Linked DNA regions of Homo sapiens: region 1 is linked to region 2. Evidence: promoter capture Hi-C in human tissues and cell types (Jung and others, 2019). All regions are on one chromosome and are shown on one strand. The core of a region is centred on a gene start or on the middle of the fragment in contact, and the rest is flanking DNA. Distances in the headings are between cores, read along the strand shown.

What was found. Contacts are between HindIII fragments. The study calls those that stand out against the background at their distance.
Region 1: a contact is called between a fragment that was not itself captured here and the fragment with the promoter of FAM83B in region 2, in 1 of the 25 tissues and cell types used here (aorta).

What each region holds. Positions count from the first base shown.
Region 1 is chr6:54,810,803-54,813,502 of GRCh38, forward strand. No RefSeq gene overlaps it. Among named protein-coding and RNA genes, the nearest start is that of FAM83B, 35 kb to the right of the region's middle. The HindIII fragment of the contact is 4,827 bases long and covers 1-2,700 here.
Region 2 is chr6:54,845,439-54,848,138 of GRCh38, forward strand. FAM83B (family with sequence similarity 83 member B) reads left to right here and starts at 1,333. Exons shown (of 5, transcript NM_001010872.3): 1 at 1,333-1,388. The HindIII fragment of the contact is 13,561 bases long and covers 1-2,700 here.

The sequences.
Region 1 (2,700 bases), core at 134-2,633, 35 kb before region 2:
CCCAGGCTGGAGTGCATAGTGCAATCTCAGCTCACTGCAGCCTCCTCCCCTCGGGTTCAAACGATTCTCATGCCTCAGCCTCCCCAGTAGCTGGGATTACACGTGGGCACCACCACAGCTGGCTAATTTTTGTATTTTTAGTAGAGATGGGGTTTCACCATTTTGGCCAGGCTGGTCTCGATCTCAGATGATCCACCCACCTCAGCCTCCTGAAGTGTTGGGATTACAGGCATGAGCCACCGTGCCCAGCAGGATTTCCTTTTTTAAGGCTGAGTAACATTCTATTGTATGTCTGTGTCATACTTTATTTATTTATCCATCAATGAACATTTAAATTGTTTCCACATCTTATCTATTGTGAATAATGCTACAATAAACATGGGAGTGCAAATATCTCTTTGAGATCTTGATTTCACTTCTTTTTGATAAATAGCTAGAATGGGATTACTGGATTATATGATATTTTTACTTTTAATTTTTTGAGGAACCTCTGTAGCAACTGTACTATTTTTCATTCCCACAGATAGTGGAAACAGGTTCCAATTTCTGCATGCCTCTCCAACAGTCATTACCATTTTTTTTTTACCATAGCTATCCTACAGGTATGAAGTGATATTTTGTTGTGATTAAGATTTCCATTTTTATAATAATTAGTAATTTTTAGCATCTTTTCATACACCTATTGGCCATTTGTATGTCTTCTCTGGAGAAATGTCTATTCAAGTCCTTTGCCCATTGTCTTAATCAGGTTATTTGCATTTGTGGGTGTGTGTGAGAGAGTCTGTGTGTTTTGTTTTTGTTTTTTGTTTTTATTTTTGTTCTGCTATTAAGTTGAAGGAATTTCTTATTTATTTTGAATATTAACCCCTTATCAGATATGCAGTTTGCAAGTATTTTCTCCCATTCCATAGACTGCCTCTTCATGTGGTTGATTCGTTCCTTTGTTGTGCAGAAGCTTTTTAGTTTGATGTAGTCGTACTTGTTCCTTTTTTTCTGTTGCTTGTGCTTTTGATGTCATATCCAAAAAAGTATTTCCAAAACCAATCTCATGAAGTGTTTCCCCTATGTTTATTTCTAGTAGTTTTACAGCTTCACATTTTCTGACTAAGCCTTTAATCCATTTCCAGTTGATTTTTAAAAGATAGGGGTTCAATTTTATTATTTTGCAATTGGGTGGCCAGTTTTCTTAATACCATTTGTTGAAGATACCAGCCTTTCCCCATGTGTATTCTTGGCACCTTTGTTGAAGATCAATTGATCTTCATGTATAAGTGTATTTCTAGGCTGTCTATTCTGTTCAATTGGTCTATATGTCTATCTTTATGCCTGTACTATATTATTTTAATTACTGTAACTTTAAAATATTTTGAAGTTATAAATAATAATACCTGCAACTTTGTTCTTTTTTCTCAATATTGATTTGGCTATTTGTAGTCTTTCTGGTTCCCTATGAATCTTAGGATTCCTTTTTTTTCCTATCTCTGTAAAACAAATTCCATTGGAATTTTAATAGGATTACACTGAATCTGTAAACCACTTTGGGTAGTACAGATATTCTAACAATATATTAAGTCTTCTAATCCATGAACATGGGATGACTTTCCATTTATTTCTTTGTACTATAATTTTATCCATCAATATTTTCTAGTTTTCAGTGTAGAAGTTTCTCACCTTCTTAGTTTATTTCTATTTTTCTTCTTGATGCTATTGTAAATAATTTTTTAAAAAAAATTTATTCTCAGATAATTTGTTCTTAGTGTATGGAATTACAACTGATTTTTTTGTATGTTGATTTGTATCCTTCAATTTTATTGAATTTGTTTATTAGTTTGAATATTTTGTGTTTGTGTGTGTGTGTGGAGTCTTTGTGATTTTCTACATATAAGATCCTGTCACTTGCAAACAGAGATAATTTTACTTATTCTTTTCTGATTTGGATGCCTCTTAACTTTTTTTTTTTTTTTTGCCTAATTTACCAAACTGAATTCAATAGCACATTAAAGGGAGCATACACTAAGTCCTAGTGGCATTTGTTCCTGGAATGCAAAGATGGTTCAACATCTACAAATCAATTAGTGTGACATAACACATTAACAGAATGAAGGATATAAATGACATGATCATCTCAACACATGAAGAGAAGGCATTTGACAAAACTCAACACCATTTCATGACAAGACTCAACAAATTAGAAAAATAGAAGAAAATAAACTTAACATAATAAAGGCCATATAAAAATGTCCAAATAAAAAGGCCATATATTAAAAGTCCACATAAAAGGCCATATATAATAAATTTCATCATTGTCAATATGAAAAACAGAGCTTTATCCTCTATGATGAAGAACAAGGCAAGGGTGCCCACTCTTGCCACTTCTATTTAACATTAATACTGGAGGTCTTAGCCAGAACAACTAGACAAGAAAAAGAAATAAAATTGAAATTGCTTTTGTATTCTGAGTATGCTATGGTGGAGCAAATGACAACTACTACACTAACAATATTGCCATATCATTAATAATTTAGAATATTTCTATTTAATTTTCTTGCCCAATAATGGATGAAGCTTTATTTAAAATATAGTGCCCAGTGAGTTTGATATATAAAACAGATAATTAAATTGTGGTACAGAATTTTTAGCTATTCAGTTTGAAAATAAATATTACACTATTGGTTTTCTTAAACGCATTGGAATAACATC
Region 2 (2,700 bases), core at 83-2,582:
AATAAATACATAAAACAAGACAATTCTCTACATTCTTTTGAAGAAATGAAACTACAAACCAGACACCAAGATCTGGAAGATTAGCTTTGTACTAATCCTGGAATTTGCTTTTACTTTCCTGTCTTTGGCCTTTGCTCTGATGTTTCAGTATCTAGACTAATGCGAATTTCATTCTTCAGTTTAAATCAGCACGTCAGTCAGGGATTCATCCAAACCTTAATGGCTTAGCATTTTCCTCAACTGTTTTATTTGGAGCAAAATCGCCACGAAAGTCATTTTTAAGGGTCAATTCAATTTTATGATAATTTATATATTATGCCAGACGCTTAAAATATGCCTATTACTACCCTAAATTCCATTCTTACAGTACTAGGCTGCATTTTAGACATTTGCTGCAAATGACTTTATCTTGAAGTCTACGTGATTACACAAATTATTATAAATACTCATGACAGATTTACTGAGGTGTAGGCAAGGAAATTAAAAAATAAATTTTATTAATTACTGTATTTTATGTTTAAATTATAGTGTCTCCACTTCCGTAACATTGCTCCGCAGTATCCCACCTAGAGGGACCTGCTTTCACGCACATCTCCCTATTTTAAACAATATCCTTTCATCCCAAATCTGTAACTAGGACAGTTGAGAGTCAGTACCAAAATCTTTGATGATATTTGAAATTCTTTTACATAAAAAAGTAAAGGCACAAGCACTTTTTCTTCTACTTTTCCACTCCCCACGTCCTCTCCAAGCCTAAAGACTCTTAGGCACTGAGAAGGAGTCTGCACTGCGGGATGCCCACTGGAATTACCTACTGTGGGCTGAATCCGCCCCACACTCTCGAAGGTGCTACAACCCTTGCTCTCACCCGCGGCCCCCAGGCCTCTCCTCCAGGCATTCTTGAGCCCAGGGAAAAGCGAGGACGGGACCACGGCCCCGCTCGGCCTAGATCCGCCTTCTTCCCAGGTGAGCGTCGCTGTCCTCCGGGATCGCTCCTCGCCCCAGACCAGGAGCAGGGTGTCGGGACTTGTAATTGCCCCGTAGCCCCGAGGGCGGGCAGGAAAGAAAGGCTTTTTCATACTCCGCTGGGAGAGAGCAGGGTGTTTGAGTTCAGACAGGTTCCGAGCGCTTTCTGGCTGTTCGGGGTTTGGCGTGCCACCACTTGGGACTTGTTGTAACCCGTCTCCACTCCCGCCCCCTCCAGCGCTGCACCTTGTCTCGGGGAGGCGCGGTTCGAGCCGGAATCAGCCTCCCTCCGCGGACCTGACGCTGGGCAGGTAACTCCCCTCCCCTCCCTGCCCGCGCCCAGGCGCTTGCTGCTTCCTGGGAGGCAAACCTTCGGCGGCCGGCGCTGTGCGGCGGGCGCGGTTGCGCGCGGCTTGGGGCAAGTAAGTGGGGTTTGGGCTCCCTTGCCCCGGACCTCGGCGGACGGGACCCCAGCGGGTGCAGGGTTGAGGTGCTTGGGGTACTGGGGGGGCCCGGGGCTTCACCCGCCCCTGGCCGGCGCGGCGGACGGGAGGGATAGGGGACTCTCCCTTGGGAGCGCAGGCGGGATTGGAAATTCCACAGGGTGTAAAGCTCAGTTGCTTCAGTCTTTTCTACGTTTCTTTCATTGTCGTGGGGGTTCGAGTGAGTTGAGAAGTTTGAAAAGTTGTCTCGGGCGGAGTCGGTTTGGGTCCCCAGAGGACTGGCGCCGCCCCTCGTGGAGGCTGCATTTGTTTCCTCTTTTCCAGTGTAGGAGTGCGCCGAGGACCCCGGGAGGGGAAGCGGGAGGAGAGACCGCTGGGAAAAGTCTCGTGGGAGGAAGTCCAGGGTGGAAGCAGAGGGCATGGGGGTGGGGGGTTCCGGGAAAAGGTGGGAGAGCTTAGGTCGCTGAGGGGCGTGGGTGTTCTTTAGATCCTGAGTGGGGAGCAGAACTTGAAAAGACAGTTTTTTCACACAACCTCTTAATTGTACAGGATCCCGTTTCTGAGTGCAGACTGGTAGCGACCTGTGTTTTTCATACTTGGGTCGGCCTGAGTCTGGGTCTGTGTGCCCTAGCAGCTCTCCAGGAGAGCCTGTACCTACCAAAGTTTGAGAACCACTGCTCTAGATCCTGGTGAGTGATCTAGAAGAGGAGAGTAGGCCTAGAGCAGATTGCTCCTGGAACGGGACTTGGAGACTTTTGGCCTATTCTGTGTGATATGTGGGGAGACTTACCTGTGTAAGGTTAATGGACAGGCAGAGAATGCCTGTGTTCATTGCAGGAGTCATAGGTATGTAAAGAGACAACAGCGCTTTCTTTATAGGAGGAGGCTGGGAGGTTATGGAAACACAGGTTAGCATGTTGTCTATGCTCGGAGCGGTGAAGTTATAGGGTCTCTCTGACCTAGAAGTGGAAATGAGAGCTCAGGCGGCCAGAACACTTAAGAAGAAGGTGTGCGGGTGGCAAGCAATTGAGGCTAGAATTTAATGCTCAACAGCTTATGTCCAAATTCCCAGTTACAAACATCTTGCTAGGTTACTGGCAGGCACCTCCCTTCTTTCCCTTTCTCATCCTAACAAGTGCAAGAGCCCCGAGGAAATCCATGACTGAGGCTGAATCATTGCTGACAAGCAACAGGAAGGGAGAGAGTGATGAAAGAGACTTAGAAGAGAAAACTGGGGTTTTTTGTTTTTTATTGGAGTGGGGGTGGGGGTGGCGGTGGGAGGCTCAAAATG